Linked DNA regions of Homo sapiens: regions 2 and 3 are each linked to region 1. Evidence: promoter capture Hi-C in 16 types of primary human blood cells and fetal thymus (Javierre and others, 2016). All regions are on one chromosome and are shown on one strand. Each heading gives the region's core, a stretch centred on a gene start or on the middle of the fragment in contact. The rest is flanking DNA. Distances are from core to core; before and after follow the strand shown. Region 1 holds the start of IFNAR2 (interferon alpha and beta receptor subunit 2). Region 2 holds the start of LOC105372787 (a long non-coding RNA gene). Region 3 overlaps IFNAR2-IL10RB (IFNAR2-IL10RB readthrough).

The links. Contacts are between HindIII fragments. The CHiCAGO score rates a contact against its expected background, and 5 or more counts as called.
Region 2: a fragment that was not itself captured here is called in contact with the fragment with the promoter of IFNAR2 in region 1 in 1 of 17 cell types (neutrophils); the score reaches 5.1 in neutrophils.
Region 3: a contact is called between a fragment that was not itself captured here and the fragment with the promoter of IFNAR2 in region 1, in 2 of 17 cell types (monocytes and naive CD4 T cells). The highest score is 6.0, in monocytes.

What each region holds. Positions count from the first base shown.
Region 1 is chr21:33,228,475-33,231,746 of GRCh38, reverse strand. It overlaps IFNAR2 (interferon alpha and beta receptor subunit 2), which reads right to left and starts at 1,809. Exons shown (of 9, transcript NM_001289125.3): 1 at 1,531-1,809. It overlaps IFNAR2-IL10RB (IFNAR2-IL10RB readthrough), which reads right to left and starts at 1,809. Exons shown (of 13, transcript NM_001414505.1): 1 at 1,531-1,809. RefSeq lists silencers at 1-120, 1,343-1,392, 1,413-1,472, 1,533-1,992. The HindIII fragment of the contact is 6,332 bases long and covers 1-3,272 here.
Region 2 is chr21:33,194,943-33,198,325 of GRCh38, reverse strand. LOC105372787 (a long non-coding RNA gene) reads left to right here and starts at 2,809. Exons shown (of 3, transcript XR_937675.3): 1 at 2,809-3,015. The HindIII fragment of the contact is 1,449 bases long and covers 624-2,072 here.
Region 3 is chr21:33,274,055-33,277,551 of GRCh38, reverse strand. IFNAR2-IL10RB (IFNAR2-IL10RB readthrough) reads right to left here. Exons shown (of 13, transcript NM_001414505.1): 9 at 799-956. It overlaps IL10RB (interleukin 10 receptor subunit beta), which reads right to left. Exons shown (of 7, transcript NM_000628.5): 3 at 799-956. Among named protein-coding and RNA genes, the nearest start is that of IL10RB, 9.4 kb to the right of the region's middle. The HindIII fragment of the contact is 622 bases long and covers 1,178-1,799 here.

The sequences.
Region 1 (3,272 bases), core at 560-3,059:
CCAAACCAAACCAAACAAAACAAAACATGATGATTGATAACGGAAGATGATACATACCATTGACTCTTGAACAGTTTGAAGGTTTATAAAGGTAGCAGAAAAAATGAGTCCAATGTGGCTTTGAGTGTGCAAGTGTGAGCCATGGAATATATATTTTAATAAATGTTTCACGTCTATGACAGTACCTCTAGGGTTATGATCCTTTTCATACTACTTTTTGAAATGACTTTTAGACAAATCACCATTGTCAAATTATGTGAACCAAAATCAGATTTTCTTTAACTTTTCAATAAATACATGAGAAACTTTAGAGGAAATAATAGGTAAGAAAAATGAGTCATGTACATTTTTGATTATCTAAAATTGTGGAAAACAACTTTATGAACAATAGAACTTACAAGTTCAAGTCATTTTCTGCGACAAACAGATCAAGCCTTATCAGCTATGCCCTAATTGCTAGGAGTGTTTATCGAATATTTTCCTTAGGGTAGATTTTGATAGAGTATCTGCTACCCCCTCACCCCCTCAAGCCTGCACAGGTGGATAGGGGGTGGGTGGACAGGATACTGAGAAACCTTGGCAAGCAGTGGGACTTAGCCCCTGGGCCAGTGAGCACACATGGGAAACTCCACCTCTCCCTGAGCCAGCTCCGGCACTTCTCACCACTGAATCAACGCCCAAGCATGCTATATTCGTTTCTAAGACTTCTTGCTAAACAAAACAAGGAAATAAAAAAAAAAATGTTAAAAGAAAGGAGGTGGGAATACTCAGAGTCAATATAACCATCGCTAACCAAATAAACGGGCTGATGGAGTCAACTCGCTACTGCGTGTAACGGATTGATTTGCTCAGGGTTGAAATGCAAGTGCCGATCGCCTCTCCATATTCGCGGAGTATCTTCCCAGTATCTCCCCTCTCCGACCCTGGGAGGGTGCACCCTTCTGTCTCCGCGGCCACGTCCCCTCGCCCCTTCCCCCTCCTGCCTCCACGCAGCGGATCCGGAGGGGTGTAGGCCGCTCCAGCCCCGGCTGCAGTCTGTGACCCTGACGCAGGTCGAGGGGGGCTAATCCCAGGGGACCTCAAGGGGGCGGGCTGGAGATCCCGAACCTGAGCACCCAGCTGGTGAGCCGGTTTTGCAAGGCGGGGTGGACCTGGAGGAATGTGACCCTCAAACTTAGCAACGACTCACATCTTGCAGTGGCAAATGCCCGGTATCCTGGGCATCCTTGGTGGGGTGGGGTGGGACGCGGAGGGGTGCAACGAAAGCGGACTCCCAGCAGGGGCGACGCGTGGAGGGCGCAGGACAGGGCCCGGGAGGGGTCCTGGGGTCGCAGGTGCGGCCCCGGGAGAGAGGAAGGGCGCACTAGCCGCATACTCAAGACGCAGAGGGAGGGCAGGAGGAGGAGGAGGAGTCGGGGAGAGCGAGAGGGAACCGGAGGGGATTCCGGGAACCGCTGCAGGGAGGCGGCGTTTTCCCTCCAGTCAGCTGGCCACGCGCTCCGCTCCCGCGACCCCGCCACGCTGCGTTACCTTTGCAGCTCTCGCCTTGCGGCTCCCGAGAGATGCTAGCCTCGGGCCCCAGCCGCGCCCGGCTCTGGGACCCGACGCTCGCGGTCAGGATGCGCCTCGCGGGCGGCCTCTCGGACAGAAGCGGCGGGCGGGGGACAAAAGCGGCCCGTGCGGCCGGGTGGTGGTCCGCGGGCTGCGCTCGGGGAACTGTTCGGCTCGCCGGCGGGATTCCTACCCGCCGGGAAGAAGCGTCTTTAGTGCGGGTGCGCGCGCCGAGCCCCGGCCTACGAGGAGCGATACGGAAGCGCGGGCGCCGCGCCGCCGCCGGCGCGGGGGCGGGGGCGGAGCCAGGGGCGGGGCCGGAGCCAGGGGCGGGTCCTGGGCCGCTGGCGGGGCTGGAGCAGGGCCGGAGGCGGAGGCCGGGCCGGGGGCTGGGCAGGAGAATAGAAAAAAGGTCCGGTCATTTACAATCGTCTGCTGCCGATTGTCAGCTCCTAACCAATCCCGCCTTCGCCGAGAAAGCTCCATAGGGGAAGAATTTGGGACTGTTTTGTTTACTGAAGTATCCTTAGGGGTTAGAATAGTGCCTGGCATTTAGAAGACACCCAAAGATGTGTTGACTGACTGAATGAATGAATGAACTAAAGAGTGAATGGGTTCTCTCCTGGCTCCCCCACTTGTTAATTGTATAAACCTGCATGATATAATTCTCCAACTAGTAAAACGAGGATAAAAATACCTACCATTGAGTAAATGTTGTAAATATCTACAACATTATCCGTTGTAGATTCTCCCCTCTTCTCCGCGGGTCTCTTCTCCATACTCCTACCCTTCCCTCGACCCCCCACTGATCAACGTGTTTCGGGATAGGCAGAAAGACAGATGTTCTTCATTAATTTGTCTGCTTGTTATTTATAGCCTGTCAACTTCTAAAATAGACTATGAGGCCGGGAGCGGTGGCTCACACCTGTTATCTCAGCACTTTGGGAGGCCAAGGCAGATGGACCATCTGAGGTCAGGACTTCAAGACCCAGCCTGACCAACATGGTGAAACCCTGTCTGTACTAAAAATACAAAAATTAGCTGGGCGTGGTGGCGGGCGCCTGTAATCCCAGTTACTTGGGAGCCTGAGGCAGGAGAATTGCTTGAACCTGGGAGGTGGAGGTTGCAGTGAGTTGAGATTGCACCATTGCACTCCAGCCTGGGAGACAAGAGCGAAACTCTGTCTCAAGAAAAACGAAAAAAAAAAGAAAATCCAAAACCAAAATAGACTATGAGGCAGCTTTCAAGTAAAATGTATGTATATTCTAAACATTACAGCTACTAAAATGGAAATGTTAATATCTTTTTGAAGGAGAGGGAAAAGATACACTAACCACCTAAATTGTTTTAACTGAGTATTTAATCTCTCGTTCAGCTTTCTGGCCTCCTAGGAAAGGGAGGAGGAGGATGTTTCATACTTTTTGTAGATGGGAAAAATGAGCCTTTTAATCTATGAAGTCAACCAACATTTGCTGATACTCCTTTAAGGCTAGGCACAAGGGTGATCATAAAGAGGATGTCACGGTCCTGCCTCTTATGTGACCCTTGGCAGAATTCCCACCAGCCCCATACGATCTGAAGGGAACTTATCTAGGATCCTATTTCTTATAAAAGACATTCAACATTGAAAATATTTTCAGCCACAGTTTTAGAGAATTTGCAGAAATAGCCTCTGAAAATGGGAGAAATCCAATACCAAACTCCATGTGCTGCATGCACTC
Region 2 (3,383 bases), core at 99-2,598, 33 kb after region 1:
ATTTATGTGCCAGTATTTTGCAAAGTGCAGTGGGGGGGTACAAAGAATTGAAAACCTGATCTCATCAACTGGAGTTGACTACACATATGTAGGTACGGGAAAGAGTAAGATATAGAGGGTACCACCTGTAGCTGGAGTACCTCCAGCACCGGGCGATGCTTCCCACTTCTCTCCTCTGTAATGCACAGGAAACATTATATTTCCAAATATGATGCATTCCCATGGGTAGCAGTTGCTCTGCCTCTTTCCCAACCAAGAAAGCCTATGGAATTTAGGGATTGTTGGGATGTGATCAAAGGGACAACCTTAAATATCCACTGTTTCTAAGAAGGATCCTTGTTTAGACACTTAGGAACAAATTAACTTATCCCCCTTATCCTGCCCAGCATCCATCAGTGGGTTAGGGAGGTATGGCAGAGGATGGCTGGCAAAGATAGGGCCATTTTCTGCATACAGATCACACTGCAGAGAAATAAACTGAGTTCCCTAGCGGCCTTTGCCTCTGCACTGCTGATTGCAGTTGGTGCCACACTGTGCCAAGTGATAAGCTCTTGAAAAGGAGCAGTTGCGTCGTGTCCTCAGAGGAGGACTGTGTGGAATGTTTGTGTCTGCATATTCAAGCTTGTTGCCAGATCTGCTGTTTCTGGGCCTCTCTCATTCTCAACTTCCTTGTGTTGAAAAATGAAGATATGAATTCCTCTCTCACAAGGGCTGTTGTGGAAATTCAATAAAAGTAATTTTGTGAGAGCTTTTAGCACGGTGCTGGCATTCAAGTGGTTGGTTGCTCAATAAATATTTGCTGGGTGAAAAAAATCTGATATTTACTTCAGAGTTCACTATGTCATTTTTCTTAATGAAAGTATATCCAAGTAGATATCTTGCTAAAATAAGAACAGCTGGAAACTATCTTAAGTGGAATTGCCTGAAGAAGAGGTGTGTCCATTTTCATTGTTTTGTAGAGTTTAGTTCATCCAGCATATCCCTCGCTTCCTTTCCTTCTTTATAGGGTTCCACAAGGAGCTTTGCTGTGGGCGAACTGTTAGCTGGAGCTGTGATAATTAGGCCAAGGTCATGCATCTGTCCCTTGTGGGCCAGTTAGCTCAGCTTGGCTCCATGTCCATACGCATTGATCTTAACCCAGCGGCAGACTCACAAGTGTGTGACCGCATCCCAGAGGACTGCGGGGGAAGGGTTTCTGTGGATCAGGGCAAATCGCTCCTGCCGGAGAAGCACCTTCACGGTCAGCTCTCTTATGGTTATTATGACCTGAAGGTGGCGCTGTTTCTCAAGGAAAACTGGCGTAGGGTCGCCGACAGTCTATTTTAAAGTGAGTGTGAAATGATAGAATGTCAGAGTTGGAGAGAATCTGCGAGGTAATCTTTGGATCGATTTCCTCACTTTCCAGCCAAGGAAACAGATCCAGAGGGATAAAACTCTTGTCAGAAGTCACACCACAGATTCCTGACAGAGGCATGGCTAGACACGGGCCTCCCAGGTCATAAACTTTTACAATTTTCACTGCACTAAGGGTTTCCTGATCCTAAATGGTATCAAGCAATTAATAATGCTTAAAAGAAAACTGAATGAATCATTGATAACTAACCTGGTGATATTGTCAATGAATTAAGTTACTGAATTTCAAATGTCTGTTATTTCTAATCACAGGTCAGATTCAAGTTGTTTTGGCTTTTACTACAAAAAGCATCTTTACATATATCTGCAATTTAATGGATAATTTATTTTCCCTTTCCATACATCTGAAAGAAGAAACATAATTGGTATGAACAGCACTTAATTCCAGACTGACTTCTTTTGAACTGTAGGTAAGCATTATTTGTTTGAATGATTACAATTGAGACAAAATGTGGGTTTTTAACAGCTGCTCACAGATTGCAGGCTGATAATGACAGTAACTCTATGGCAGCTATTTGTAACCCCTACCCTAGTTCATAGAAAGAGAAGCATATTAGACAGTGGGCATGGCAAGTACCTCTCCGCAGGTGTGTACGGAATCAGAATTCAACTTTTAGAAGATTTCTGCTCTGAAAACAAATTATTTTTTAAAGTAAGCTTTTACTTATTTTGGGGGGTATGGTGAGTACTTGGGAACGTGAGAGAGTGTTTCCTACTTTTCTCATGGTGAGAGTTGACAAGATGTGAGGTTTGGAGCCTGTGTTGTAGAATTCAAGGTCATCAAAAAAGGCAGGTCTTGTGGCTCTGCTTGAGGCATGAGTTAAAACTTTTCTTATCATCCTGATCAAATACAGTTGTAGGAGTTGTCGCAGGGAGATTAGCACCCTTTCTCCAGTTCATCTTGGACAGGTGGTTTTTATTATTCTTGTATTTGGTTTTTATCCTCTTTCTTTCAGAGCTAAGGGAGACTCATCAGAATGGATGGTTTCTGAAATAGGAATCTATTCAAGATTTAGGAATATAGAATTTTTATTTTTTAAAACACATTACATTTCATTACACTGTCCAATGATATAACAGAACCACAGACTTTTCTGGTTGTGTCCTGCTCTTTATTTTTACCTGGATCCAAGCTTTCTTCAATGATTCTCTCTCTCTCTCTTTTTCTTTTTCTTTCTTTTTTTTTTTTTCTTTTTTGAGTTGGAGTCTTGCTCTGTCACCCAGGCTGGAGTACAGTGGTGTGATCTTGGCTCACTGCAACCTCCGCCTCCTGGGTTCAAGTGATTCTCGTGCCTCAGCCTCCTGAGTAGCTAGGATTACAGGTGTATGCTACAATGCCTGATAAACTTTTGTATTTTTTGGTAGAGACTGGATTTCACCATGTTGCCCAGGCTGGTCTCAAACTTCTGGCTTCAAACTATCTGCCTGCCTCAGCCTCCCAAAGTGCTGGGATTACAGGCGTGAGCACCGTGCCCTGCCTCTCTTCAAGGACTCTCTTTGCTACATCGGCATCACCTGGGAACGTGGTAGGGCTACAGAATCTTGGGCCCCACCTTGGACCTACCTAATCGTCATCTTATTCATTGGTGTTCCCTTCGCCAGGTGAGTTTTGCACTGACTAAAACACACAGATCTATCAGGTGAGTCGAAATGGCAATACTCATTTACCTTAGTTCTGCCTTTATTTTACTTTCAGTGTTTTATCCTTGTCCATGGAGTCACTCTCATTCATGCAGTTCCACAAATATTTTTTAAGGCCCACTCTGTGGCAGACATAATACAAAGGGCTGAGAATAAAGATGAAAAAAATCATTTACTCAAAGTATGTAGTATGTCATCCAATGATAAGTTATGGAGGAAAAGGCAGGCTAAGGGGGCCGGGAGTGTGGGAAAAGGGTGCAGTGGTATACAGAGTGATCAGCGAAGCCTTCTCCCAGGAAGGGGCCTCTGAGCAGAGAAGGGGAGGACAG
Region 3 (3,497 bases), core at 239-2,738, 46 kb before region 1:
GTGCTTTTCTCTATGTGAGTTTTGAAGGGCTGTATGTGAATTTTGTGAATTAGGTTCTTTTAACCTCTAATCTTCTTTACTCTCTCAATTGCTAATATATGGTTTAATTAGTTTTCAATTCCTGATATTCTAAATATGCTCATCTCATATTTAGGGGACTCTGGTGGTCACCATGACCCTCCAAATCTAACCTGGGAACAATATTTTTTTTTTTTTTGAGACCAAGTCTCACTCTATTGCCCAGGCTGGAGTGCAGTGGCGTGATCTCGGCTCACTGCAATCTCCACCTAACCTGGGAACAATTTTTGATGCTGACCAACCAGTCTGACCCAACCCACCTGCCATCAGCCCTATCCCTCCCTCTGTCCTTCGCTCTGGGCAAGCCGGCTGTCCGCATCATATTTTCCATCTCTACATCTGCCTTCATTCTTTTGCCTATCACGTTATGTTTCTTTGTTTAAGTCATAATTCCATACTGACTTTCTCCCAGAAAATTCACCACAAGAATCCTTCCAGAACTTCTCCTCAACAGCACGGGCCCCAACATAGTCACATCCTTGAGGCACTGAAGGTGTTAGATTTATATTTAATTGTTGCATTGATGATATGCCTATCTTTTTCTGTCTCTCCCATGAATTCTTTAGGGATACAACTCTCTTTATTATATTCCTTAAGCTCCTTGTGCAAGGCCATCCATTTGTGGGCCCTCAAAGAATTCTTGTTGATGGACCAACCAATGTGGAAAAAAACAAGGCAAGATGATGACATTACAAAAAAAGGGAAAACAAAATGGCTTACTGTCATCCACAGGACAGAAGGTGATGTTTACCCAGTCTGAATGCTCATCTGCAAATTCAGCCCTGACTCTCAAGGTGTGGTCACCATACTTGGAAAGACTTGAGAAATCACATTCCGTCAAGGTAGTATTCATGCATTTATCTTGGAATATCCTATAACTACACAATCAAAAAGATAGGTCAATCAGGAGAGTTCTGGCTTCAGTCTCCCTGAGGCTGACTGGTACTTAATTTGGAGGGGGGGGCGGCGCGGGAGTGGAAACTGTGTTAAACATAGAAATACGTGTCTTCAAAACAGAACTTCTCAGAGACTTGAACATCTTAATGACTACGTGCCTCTCCAAGGGGTTGAGTATTCAGCATACTTGACCAAGAAAGCTTGCTTCCTTGATTACGTATTTTTGAAAACAGGGGCATGTGATTTATGAGACATTGATTTACAAAAATTTACCAAAATAAAGATATTACAATGATTTTCAATAAAGTCATGTGCTGCATAATGACATTTCGGTAGATGACAGACCACATATACAACGTTGATGCCCTAAGATAATGATACTGTATTTTTACTGTACCTTTTCTATGTTTAAATACATTTAGATGTAGACATACCTCATTTTATTGTGATTTGCTTTACTGTACTTCACAGATATTGCATTTTACAAATCGAAGGTCTGCAGCAACCCTGCATTGAGCAAGTCTATTGGTGCCATTTTTCCAACAGCACATGCTCACTTCATGTCTTTATGTCACATTTTGGTAATTCTCGCAATATTTCAAAACTTTTCATCATGATTATATGTGTTATGGTGATCTGTGATCAGTGATCTTTGATGTTACTGTTGTAATTGTTTTGGGGTACCATGAACCACACCTATATAAGACAGTGAAATTAATCAATAGATGTTGTGAGTGTTCTGACTTCTCCACCCACTGTCCACTCTCCTGCCTCTCTCCTTCTCCTCGGGCATCCCTATTCCAAAAGCTGCAAAGGATTAAGCTTAGTGAGGAAGGCATATTGCAGGCCACAACAGGCCCCTTGGGCCAAACAGTTAGCCAAGTTGTGAATGCAAAGGAAAAGTTGTTGAAGGAAATTTAAAGTGCTACTCCAGTGAACACATTAATAATAAGAAAGTAAAACAGCCTTATTGAAAATATGCAGAAAGTCTCAGTGGTCTGGATAGAAGATCAAACCAGCCACACCATTCCCTTAAGCCAAAGTCTAATCCACAGCAAGACCCTAACACTCCAATTCTGTGAAGGCTTAAAGAGGTGAGGAAACTGCAGAAGAAAAGTTGGGGCTGGGTGTGGTGGCTCACGCCTGTAATCCCAGCACTTTGTGAGTCTGAGGTGGGCGGATCATCAGGTCAGGAGTTCAAGACCAGCCTGACCAACATGGTGAAACCCCACCTCTACTAAAAATACAAAAAAATTAGCCGGGCATGGTGGCATGCACCTGTAATCTCAGCTACTCAGGAGGTTGAGGCAGGAGAATCACTTGAACCCGGGAGGCAGAGGTTGCAATAAGCCGAGATTGTGTCACTGTATTCCAGCTTGGGCAACAGAGCGAGACTCCATCTCAAAAAAAAAAAAAAAAAAAAAGAAAAGTTGGAAGTTAGCAGAGGTTGGTTCATAAGGTTTAAGGACAGAAGCCATCTCCATAATATAAAAGTGCAAGGTGAAGCAGCAAGTGCCCATGTAGAAGCTGCAGCAAGTTATCCAGAAGATCTAGCTAAAATCTAGCTAAAATGATGAAGGTGGATACTCTAAACAACAGATTTTTAATGTAGATGAAACAACCTTCTATTAAGATGTCATCTAGGACTTTCATAGTTACAGAGGAGAAGTCAATGCCTGGCTTCAAAGCTTCAAAGAACAGGCTGACTCTTGTTAAGGGCTAATGTAGCTGGTGACTTTAAGTTGAAGCCAACACTGGATTACCATTTTGAAAATCAGAGAGCTCTTAAGAATTATGCCAAATCTACTCTGCCTGTGCTCTACAAATGGAGCAACAAAGCCTGGAGGACGGCACATCTGTTTACAGCATGGTTTACTGAATATTTTAAGCCCAGTATTAAGACCTACTGCTCAGGATAAAAAGTTTTCTCTCAAAATATTACCTCTCATTGACAATGTACCTGGTTCCCCAAGAACTCTGATGGAGATTTAAAAGGAAATTAATGCTGTTTTCATGCCTGCTAACACAACATCCATTCTGTAGCCCATGGGTCAAGGAGTTATTTCGACTTTCAAATCTTATTATTTAAGAAATATATTTTGAAGCTGGGCACAGTGGCTCATGCCTGTAATCTGAGCACTTTGGGAGGCCAAGGCGGGCAAATCACTTGAGGTCAGGAGTTCGAGACCAGCCTGGCCAACATGGTGAAACCCTGACTTTACTAAAAAAAAAATACAAAAATTAGCCTGGTGTGGTGTCACTACTTGGGAAGCTGAGGCAGGAGAATCACTTGAACCTGGGAGGTGGAGGCAGCAGTGATCTGAGATCATACCACTGCACTTCAGCCTGGGCAACAGAGTGAGACTCCATCTTAAAAAATAAAATAAAATGAAATAAAATAAAATAAAGAAATATATTTTGTAAAGTTATAGCTGCCATAGATAGTGATTTCTCTGATGGATCTGGGCAAGGTAAATTGAAAACCTCCCAGAAAGGATTCACCATTCAAAATGCCATTAAGA